Regions from separate parts of the Homo sapiens genome. Here region 1 is linked to region 2. The links are contacts of gene promoters, found by promoter capture Hi-C in human tissues and cell types (Jung and others, 2019). All regions are on one chromosome and are shown on one strand. Each heading gives the region's core, a stretch centred on a gene start or on the middle of the fragment in contact. The rest is flanking DNA. Distances are from core to core; before and after follow the strand shown.

Region 1 (5,503 bases), core at 180-2,679, 150 kb after region 2:
AACTGAAAAAATATGAAATAACTATTGGCTTTAATATTGACATTCTGTATTCAATATTTTTACACCAAATTCTCTACTGACATTTGTAGATGCACACCTTTTTTTTTAGGACGGATTCTCGCTCTGTCGCCCAGGCTGGAGTGCAGTGGCACAATCTTGGCTCACTGCAACCTCCGCTTCCCGGGTTCAAGCGATTCTCCTGCCTCAGCCTCCCGAGTAGCTGGGCTTATGGGCGCCTGCCACCATGCCCAAATAATTTTTGTATTTTTTTGGTAGAGACGGGGCGTCACTATGTTGTTGGCCAGGCTGGTCTCAAAACTCCTGACCACGTGATCTGCCCGCCTCAGCCTTCCAAAGTGCTGAGATTACAAGCGTCAGCCACTGCCCCTGGCCACCTTAAAAAAAAAAGAATTATTTTTGGCTGTATGTGGTGATTCATGCCTGTAATCCCAGCACTTTGGAAGGCCGAGGCAGGTGGATCACTGGAGGTCAGGAGTTGGAGACCAGCCTGGCCAACATGGTGAAACCCCATCTCTACTTAAAATACGAAAAAAAAAAAAAAATTAGCTGGGCTTGGTGGTGTGTGCCTGTAGTCTCAGCTACACAGGAAGCTGAGGTGGGAGAGTTGCTTGAATCCAGGTGGTGGAGGTTACAGTGAGCCGAGATTATGCCACTGCACTCCAGCCTAGGCGACAGAGTGACCCTGTCTCAGAAAAACAAAACCAAAAAACCTTTTATTTTTATCTAATTTCAGACTTAGAAAAAAGTTCCGAGAATTCCCATATACCTTTCAATCAGCTTCATCTAATGCTACCTTCTTATATAACCATAGTACAGTCATTAAAACCAGGAAATTAATCTTGGTATAACACAGGCATACATTGTTTTATTGTACTTTGCTTTATTGTGCTTTGCAAATAGTTTTTTTTTTTTTTAAATAAGTTGAAAGTTTGTGGCATCCCTGCATCACACAAGTCTATCAGCACCATTTTTCCAATAGCATGTACTCACTTTTTGTCACGGTGTCACGTTTTGGTAATTCTCACAATACTTCAAACCTTAGCATTATTGTTATATCTGTTATGGTGATCTGTATTTAGTGATGTTTGATGTTACTATGTAATTGTTTTGGGGTGCCATGGACTGTGCCCACATAGGACAGCAAAGTTATTGATCAATACGTGTGTTCTGACTGCGTCATGGATTGGCCATTCCCCTATATCAGGGTTCCCCAACACCTGGGTCACAGACTAGTACCAGTCCATGGCCTGTTAGGAACCGGGCTGCACAGCAGGAGGTAAGAGGCAGGTGAGCCAGCAAAGCTTCATCTGTATCGTATTTATAGCCACTCCCCATTGCTCACATTACTTCCCGAGCTCCGCCTCCTGTCAGATCAGCAGCGGCATTAGATTTTCGTAGGTGTGTGAACCCTGTTGTGAACTGCACATGTGAGGGATCTAGGTTGTGTGCTCCTTACGAGAATCTAATGCCTGATGATCTGTCACTGTCTTTCATCACTCCCAGATGGGACTACCTAGCTGCAGGAAAGCAAGTTCAGGGCTCCCACTATGGTATGTTATGGTGAGTTGTAAAAATATTTCATTACGTATTACAATGTAATAATAGAAATAATGTGCACAATAAATGTAATGTGCTTGAATCATCCCGGAACTACTTCCCCATCCCCCAGTCCATGGAAAAATTATCTCCATGAAACTGGTCCCTGGTGCCAAAAAGGTGGGGACTGCTGCTCTCTCTCCCTCTTTTTGGACCTTCCTATCCCCTGAGACACAGCAATATTGAAATTAGGCCAATTAATAACCCTGCAATGGCCTCTGAGTGCTCAAGTGAAAGGAAGAGTCCCACATCTCTCACTTTAAACCAAAAGCTAGAACTTTCATACAATTTTGAACACAAGTAGTGAGAATGATTAAGCTTAGTGAGGAAGGCTTGTTGAAGGCCAAGACAGCCTGAAAGCCAGGCGTCTTGCTCCCAGCAGTTAGCCAAGTTGTGATTGCAAAAGAAAAGTTCTTGAAAGAAATTAAAAGTAGTACTCCAGGCCAAGCATGGTGGCACATACCTGTAATCTCAGTGCTTTGGGAGGCCAAGGCAGGAGGATAACTTAGCCCAGGAGTTCAAGACTAGCTTGGGCACATAATGAGATCTTATCTCTACAAAAAATAGAAAATAAAAATTAGCCAGATGTGGTGGCATGAGCCTGTAGTCCCAGGTACTTAGGATTGAGTACAGCCTGTAGTCCTGTACTCAGATACAGGCATGAGCCTGTAGTCCCAGGTACTGAGGCAGGAGGATCGCTTGAGCCCAGAAGTTTGAGGTTGCAGTTAGCTATGATCACACCACTGCACATCAGCCCGGGCAACAGAATGAGATTCTGTCTCAAAAAATAATAGCAAATAAATAAATAAAAGTGCTACTTCAGTGAACACACAAATGCTAAAAAAGCAAAATAGCTTTATTGCTGATACGTAGGAAGTTTGAGTGGTCTGGGTAGATCAAACCGGTCACAATATTCCCTTAAGCCAAAGCCTAATCAAGAGCAAGGCTCTAACTGTCTTCAATTCTATGAAGACTAAGAAAGGTGAGGAAGCTTCAGGAAAGAGTTTGAAGCTAGCACTGGTGGATTCATGAGGTAAAGGAAAGAAGTCATCTCCATAACATAAAAGTGCAAGGTGAAGCAGCATGTACTTTTGTAGAAGCTGCAGCAAGTTACCCAGATCTAAGATCATTGGTGAAGATGGCTACACTAAACAACAAATATCCAATGTAGATGAAGCAGTTTTATATTGGAACAAGATGCCATCTAGGACTTTTATAGCTAGAGAGGAGAAGTCAATGTCTGGCTTCGAAGCTTCAAAGGACAGGTTGACTCTCTTGTTAGGGGTTGATGCAGCTGGTGACCTTAAGTTGAAGCCAATGGTCATTTACCATTCTGAAAATCCTAAGCCCCTTAAGAATTGTGTTAAATCTACTGTGTCTGTACTTTACAAATGGAACAACAAAGCCTAGATGACAGCATATCTGTTTACACATTTGGTTTACTGAATATTTTAAGCCCACTGTTGAGAACTGCTGCTCAGACAAAAGATTGTTTTCAAAATATTAGTGCTCATTGACAATGCACCTTGTCACCCAAGAGCTCGGATAGACATGTACAAGGAGATGAATGTTGTTTTCATACCTGCTAACACAACATTCAGACAGCCCATGGATCAGGGAGTAATTTCAACTTTCAAGTCTTATTATTTAAAGAATACATTTTGTAAGGCTATAGCTGCCATAAATAGTGATTCCCCTGATGGATTCGGGGAAAGTAAATTGAAACCCTTTGGAAAAGATTCACCATTCTAGATGCCATTAAAGAACATTCATGATTCATGGAAGGAGGTCAGAATATCAGGATTCATAGGAGTTTGGGAGAAGTTGATTCCAACCCTCATGGAAGACATTGAGGAGTTCAAGACTTCAGTGAGAAGTCACTGCAGATGTGGTAGAAAATAGCAAGATAACTAGAATTAGAAGTAAAGCCTGAACATGTGACTGAATTGCTGCAACCTCATGATAAAACTTGAATAGATAGGAGATGTTTCTTACGGAAGAGTAAAGAAAGAGGTTTCTTGGCCAGGCGTGGTGGCTCACACCTGTAACACCAGCACTTTGGGAGGCCAAGGTGGGCAGGTCACTTGATGTCAGTAGTTCGAGACCAGCCTGGCCAAAATGGCGAAAACCTATCTCTACTAAAAATACAAAAATTAGCCCAGCGTGGTGGTGGGCGCCTGTAATCCCAGCTACTCAGGAGGCTGAGGCAGGAGAATCACCTGAACCCAGGAGGTGGGGGTTGCAGTGAGCTGAGATTGCGCCACTGCACTCCAGCCTGGGTGACAGAGCAAAACTCGGTCTTGAGAAAGGAAAAAAAAAAACGTGGTTTCTTGAGACAAAGTCTACTCCTGGTGAAGATGCTGTGAACATTGTTTGTTTTGTTTTGAGATGGAGTCTTGCTCTGTTGACCAAGCTGGAGTGCAGTGGTGTGATCTCAACTCACTGCAACCTCCACCTCCCAGGTTCAAGCGATTCTCTTGCCTCAGCCTCCTGAGTAGCTGGGATTACAGGCACATGCCACCATGCCCGGCTAATTTTTGTATTTTTTGTAGAGACAGGGTTTCACAGTGTTGCCCAGGCTGGTCTTGAACTCCTGAGCTCAAGCAATCTGATTGCCTCAGCTTCTGCAAAGTGCTGGGATTACAGATATGAGCCACTGTAACCCGGCCAGTGATCACTGTTGAAATGACAACAAATAATTTAGAATATTACATACATTTAGTTAATAAAGAAGTGGCATATTTGAAAGAAGTTCTACTGTGGGGTGAAATGCTATCAAACAGCATCGCATGCTGCAGAGAAATCTTTCATGAAAGGAAGAGCCCATTGGTGTGACAAGCTTCATTGTTGTCTTACCTTAAAAATTGCCACAGGCATTCCAACCCTCAGTAACAACCACCCTGATCAGTAAGCAGCCATCCACATGGAGGCAAGACCCTCTAACAGCAAAAAAATTACAAATGTGTTGAAGGCTCAAATGATTATTAGCATTTTTTAGCAATAAAGTATTTTTATTTTTCTTGAGACAAGGTTTCGCTGGTCACCCAGGCTGGAGTGCAGTGGCATGCTCACTCCTGCACTCTTAACAGACTTAAGCTATAGTATAAACATAATTTTTATATGCACTGGGGGACCAAAAAATTTATGTGGTTTGGTTTATTGCAATACTTTATTGCAGTGATCTGGAACCAAACCTGCAATATCTCCAAGGTGTGCCTGTACTATTATTTAAAGCGTAGAACTTATCCAAATTTCAGCAGTGTTTCCAATGATGCCCTTTTTCTGTTCCAGGATTTCACATTCACATAGCATTTAGTTATTATTTCTCTTTAGTCTTTTTGTTTTGTTTTGTTTTGTTTTGTTTTGTTTGAGACAGTGCCTTACTCTGTAGCCTAAGCTGGAGTGTACTGGCATGATCGTGACTTACTGCTGCCTCTAACCCCAGACTCAAGGGATCCTCTCACCTTAGCCTCCTGAAGAAAAAAAAGAGGTGAGTGTGGTGGTGTGTACTTATAGTCCTCCCAAGTAGCTAGGACTGTACACACACATCGCCACACTCACCTCATTTTTTTGTTTTTTTGTAAAGACGAGGTCTCACTTTGTTGCCCAGCCTTCTCCTAGTCTTTTGTTGCTGTTATTTTAGAGTTAGGGTCTTGCTCTGTCACCCAGACTAGAGTACAGTCACACAATCATAGCTTACTACAGCCTTGACTTCCTGGGCTCAAGTGATTCTCCTACCTCCTCCTCTCTAGTAGCTAGGATTATAGGCATATGCCACCATGTCAAGCTAATTTTTTCAAACCTTTTTTTTTGAGAGACAGAGCCTTGCCATACCGCCCAGGCTCTGAGTCTCTTCTAATGTCCTCAGTCTTTCTTTATCTTCCAA
Region 2 (5,545 bases), core at 1,487-3,986:
GTGAATAAATCTTTTACAAGTCTGCCAACACTGAGCATCTACTGTTTCAGCCCAAATAAAATATAGGTGTATCTTTAACTGGAAATATAAACTGACATTTAAACTAAAAGCACCTCTCAGAAGGGGAAACTCCTGGATTCAACCCCATTCTGCTCACCCTGCATTTGATCCCAAACTGCAAGTGAATTGGCTCCATTTTTCTGTTCCTGGGATTTGGATCGGTATTTACCTCAATCACTCATTTTTCTAAAAGTGATGAAAGAACATGAACCCACAGTATATTAAAACTAGGAGTCCATTCAAAGTTTAAAAACGGAAAAAAAAGATAACTGCCCCCTAGCTTCTTACCTAGAAGAAACCTTTTAAAAGGAGATGCCTACAACAAGTAGATTAGAATTTCAACTTTTTTCCAACAGGAGAAGCCAGCTAAAGGCCATCAGGCAATAGCTCCGCCCTCCTCCCCAAATAACAGGTTAGGAGTGGAAAAGGCAGCGGCGCTGGGCTCACCTTTGCGGTGCTCGGTACCCACTCTCCAGCTCACACAGGCCACGACCCCCACTATGGCTTTTAAAGCCTCTGCAGTCTCCAGCTTACGCTCTAAGTCAAGACTTTCACCCACACCCTCTCTTACCGGTCTACAGGTAGATCGCCTAAGTTACCGACCCCCTCGGCAAGAGCCCGCTTCTCAAGACTTTTGGCCTGCCTTCATTGGGTTCGGGGGAGAAGACGACACTCGCATAATACCAAAGTGGAAAGGAGAAAGGGGTCACACTGTGTGAAAAGCAAATGTTTACTCGACAGCCCAAAGGGCGAAATCGAGCCCGAGGGTTGCAATGTAGCCCTAAAAGCCTTTGCACTCCGGCGTTCCAGCAGCGTACGGCTGCCTTGGTCTTTTCCAAGGAAGTCGAGACCCTGGTTGAGCCGGGTGGATACCTCCTAACCAGGGAAACCGGTTCCTGTAGGGCTTGGAGTCGGGGCAGGCGGGCGCGGCCCAAGAGACTCAGGCTGGTGAAGGTAACGTCGTCCCTTTATTCCGCTTCTATCTCGGGGTGCAGCCGTGGGCCCACGAACGGCGATTTCACGCTAGGAGAATTCAGGGGCCAGAACACGCATTTTAAACAATATAGGAAGCAGCCGCAGAGAGAGAAGGGCTTAAGACTGGGGGCCCTTGGCCCTCAAAGATCCACAGACGCTCCCACTCTTACCCAACATAAGGAGGCAAGGACTGCCATGCTGTCCCAACAACAAAAAAACCAGTCTTCCCCTCACAAGTGCGCACGTGGAAACCAGGTCTACGGAGGCACACAAACTCCACGCACTCACCCACACAACCATCTCTTCCGGGCTCACGCCCCATTTTAAAGGCAACAATCTATGAGTTTTCCAAACAAAAATCTGAAAATAAAGGAGCGCCTTCTCAGCACGTTGGGAGGCCTCTGGTGTGCCCACAAGAGCAGGAGCAGGCCACGTCTACACAAACACACACACCTATCTCCTCCCAACTCACGCCTAACTCAAGACGATTGCCGCGTTTTGCCACACAGAAATTAAAATCAGAAAAGGGAGGACCCCACGCTATGGGATTTTTCGGAGCCCCTCGCGACACGTACACAGAATCCACTTCCACATACTTCCCAGGTCATGATCTACTTTGGTAGCAAGGACTGCCACGTAGCCAAAGGAAATACAAACCAAATCCGGAGAGGGCCTCCTCCCCTCGCTGTGGGACCGGCCGGGAAACGCTGTTGAGCACACACGCAGTTATCCGATGGACACAAACACACGCCCCCACGCACTCACCTCGTCGTCGTGGTGCTGGCAGAAGCCGAGGCGCTCGGGAAACACTGAGAGGATGGAGAAGGGCGGGCCGGGAAAGGGCGGCCCGAGCCCGAGCTGCTGCGCCGCTGCTGCGGCACCGGGACCCGGCGGGCCGCGCTCGATGTAGTGGTCCTTGGTGAGGCGCACGCGCTGGTGCGCTCGGACGCAGTTGTCGCACAGGTGCTCCTGGCAGTCGAGGCAGCGCGAAGAAGCTGCGTTGCCCTCATCGCACGAGCTGCAGCCGTGAGGACGGCGGAGCAGCAGCGCCGACGGGGAAGCGGCAGGGCCGCCGGGTGCCGAGCGGGAAGGCGCGGGCGGCTGCGGCGCCTGCGGGAGTGGCGGCGCGGAGGCGGACGCGCGCGGGTGCGCGTGGTGAGCGTGGTGCCGGTGGTTGCTGTGGCCGCCCGCTCCCGCCGGAGCGCCGGCGCGCCCGTTCTTGGGCGGCGGCTCGTCGGCAGTGGCCACCACCGCGTCGAGCAGGTTGCTAAGCAGGAAGGCGGACGAAGGCAGCGCGTCCATACCCGCCGCCTCGGCTAGCACTACTTTCTGGTCGCACACGGGGCAGCGCAGCTTGAGCGGCTCTCCCGCCGCGCCGCCGCCCGCCGCCGGCAGCCGGTGCGCCTCGAGGCAGGGGCGGCAGAAGGCGTGCAGGCAGGGCAGGACGTGTAGGCGGCGCGCCGCCGCCCCAGGGCCCCCGCCGCCGCCCCCCGACGACGTGGACGTCTGCGAGGAGGACGACGACGCGGACGAGTTGGAGGAGAGCGGCGCCGGCGAGCCGCACATCTCCTTGCACAGCAAGCAGATCTGGAAATCGGTCTCGGGGAACGAAGCCATTTGCAACCCAGCCCGGAGGAGGGAGGAGACCAGAGAGGAAGAGGAGGAGGAGGAGGAGAGAGCGGACGAGGTGGGTGGGGGAGTCACCGACTCACTCAGAAAAATGCATCGATTAGGCCTGCAATCCGGGAGCCGGCACCAGAGCAGCGCTGCCCGCTTGGCCTCGCCACGTCCGGCCCGAGCGCTGCCACCCCCGACACTGCAGGCATTAAATGCCACTATCCAGCGGCGACACAGATTCCTCCGGATAACTTGGGGGCCGCGTGCCTTCCGAAGAGGGAACGCCGGAACAAGCCCCGACAGGCGAGGGGCGAGCGGGGGCAGGGAGGTCGGAAGACTCCCTGGAGCAGCTGAGGCTTCCCTTCGCGATAGACGAAAGGAGTTCCCAAAAGGAGAGTTCGCTGTGCAGTCCCAGTCCCGGCGAGAGCAGAATTTGGTTCCACGAGTATTTGGTGCGTTGCTTTTCTTTAAACGGATTTAGTCTGTTCTTGGGAGGGGAAGGAGCCCCAAACTAGTAAAGGCGGGAGCGGTGCGTCGCCAAGCCGGTGTCTCCCCGCGCGACGTCGGCTGCCCCGCCGCATGACGCGGCGGCCAGGGGCTCCTGGGTGGCCCGGCGTGCTGCGCTTGGGGCTTGCGCACAGCCAGGCACGGCCTCCCCTGCAGGGCGGTGGGCCCCGCAGCAGCTGCAGCTCGTGGTGGCCCAGCCGCGGCCGCACGCGTGCAGTACGCACGCGCGTCCCACGCGCCTCGAGTCTTCCGCGCGCCTGCCCAGCCGGGCCGCGGCTGCCCGCGCTTAACACGCACGCGCGCCCCACGCGGCCCGGAGCCCTCGTGCCCCCGCCTCGCCTGGCCTGGGCGCCTCACGCACGCTCCTTCCCCTTCGGCTTAGCGCGCGGGGCCGCAGGTCCCCGCGGGCCGCCCTGAATTATTCATCGGCAGGAAGATATTAGATGTACCCGCTCCGCGCGGGCCGTCGTGCAATGCTATCCGAGCTCCGCGCGCGCCCTGCGCCCCTCCTCCTCCTCACGTCCGTCCTCTCTGAAACCTTGGCAGAGAAGGGGGATCACATTTCCTTTGTCATCGGGCCATTTCGCCCTCGCCTTGGTCCCCCCTCCGATCCCGAGCCTCGGGGATGGAGGCTCCTCTCGGGCGCGCTGGAATCAGTGGAACCGGCAACAGCCCCGCGCGGCGAGCTCGGGAGCCGCGTGGCCAACGCCGCCGGCTCGCGCCCGCGTCATCTTCTTTCTGAAAGGAGTCGCCGATCCGGACGCGGGTGGCCTCGGCCGCGCTGCGCCTACCGAGCTTTGCTCCCGCCGTGCCCCGGCCTCCTGGGGCTTTGCACAACTCCCCCAGTTCGGGTTGCGTGCGCGCGCGCGCGCCCCCTCTTTCTCTGCTTTGCCGCCTCTGCCTCCTCCTCCTCCTCCTCTTCTCTTCAGTACGCCGGTTATTGGGACTGATCGGAATTCGGAATCCTTTTAATCTCCAAAGGAGCAAACTCACTTCCGCCCGAGTGCTGGGAGGGGGCTGGGGGAGGGGAGGCAGGGGAGGGGGCTCCAGGCAAACAGGAAACATTAGCCCTCTCAGCACGGCCCGCTTTTGTGTGCTCCCTCCCTCCGCCCTCCAACCTCCTCCCTTCTCCCGGCCGCTGGGGAGATGAACGCCCCCGGGCTTCAGTGTGACGACCTTTGAAACCTTCTGAGCGAGGAGCAGAGAACGACTCTTCCGTTTATTTAAAAAAGAAAAGAAAAGATTTCATTCTGAATCCCTGGCTCAACCGAGACATATCCACTGCCCGGGAGATCTCGGTTTTTACCCACCTTTTCTTTTTTTCTTTTTACGTTTTTTAAAGAACTCTGCATATCTGATCACCAAAACATCACACGGTGGTGTGCAGTTGGATGCATGGAATTAAGCGAGTCTGAATTCTGATCGGCAGAGGGGCCAGAGTTCCCTTTTGAGTTTTAATGGGGCTGGGGGGAAGCAGGGGGCAGCTGTTCTGGGGAGGCGACCTGGTGATGGCCCCGCAGCCATCTGGGTGGTGCCCGAGGCCGCCTGAGCGGTTCTGGGAGAGGAACTTGCATGGCCCTGGAGAGAGACTCACTTGGAAGGGCAAGGAGGGCCACTTACCAGGATATAGGTAGTATCTGGCCTGGAGGCCAACGGGGTAAAAATTGTCCCCTTCTTAACACTATCTCGCTGTTAGTGATATCCTATTTAACCTGGTACAGGCAACAACCTGATGACTCAAAAACATCGTGTTGGGAGAGAGAAGCCAAACACAAAAGAGTTCATACTGTGTGATTCCATTTCCAGGAAATTCTAGAACAGAGAACTAAGCTATGGGGAGAGGAAAAGTACCCTTGGGGATGAGGAGGTATTGACTGGGAAAGGGCATGAAGGAACCTTCTGGGGTGGTGAAATAAAAATAGATTGCCGTGTATGTACATTTGTCAAAACTTATAAATGCCATTTAAGATCTATGCACGATTTCACTGTTTAAATTATACTTCGATAAGCAATTTAAAAAAACACCTCGGTGTCCAACCTGCATAACTATGCCTGGATCATAAAGATGGAGAAATTTAAAAATACACTACATGGACCTCCCCAGCTCCTCTGGTTTTGCTCATTGGAATCCATGGGAAAATCACCCTGGAAAAAGCCCTTAAATCAACCCAGCTGGACACATGTGCTGATGGCCCTAGGAAGCTGCAGAAGTACCTCTCCAAAAGGATGAAGCCGTCTTGGGGGCCAGGGTGCTGTCCTGAGATGGGAGCGTTTCCTAGGCTGAGGAAGAGCCTGGCAGCCCCACCGGGAATGCCTAAGCCCTCAGCTGCCCCCAGAGCTCCCTCCTTAGCACCTGGAGCAAAATGAACATCAGTGAACATTTTCT

What was found. The method cuts DNA at HindIII sites, captures the fragments that hold promoters and counts their contacts. A contact is called where the count stands out against the background at its distance.
Region 1: a fragment that was not itself captured here is called in contact with the fragment with the promoter of TRIM71 in region 2 in 1 of the 25 tissues and cell types used here (adrenal gland).

What each region holds. Positions count from the first base shown.
Region 1 is chr3:32,667,565-32,673,067 of GRCh38, reverse strand. No RefSeq gene overlaps it. Among named protein-coding and RNA genes, the nearest start is that of CNOT10, 15 kb to the left of the region's middle. The HindIII fragment of the contact is 4,468 bases long and covers 1-3,663 here.
Region 2 is chr3:32,815,188-32,820,732 of GRCh38, reverse strand. It overlaps TRIM71 (tripartite motif containing 71), which reads right to left and starts at 2,736. Exons shown (of 4, transcript NM_001039111.3): 1 at 1,801-2,736. The coding sequence starts at 2,652. RefSeq lists an enhancer at 1,695-2,276. The HindIII fragment of the contact is 18,479 bases long and covers 1-5,545 here.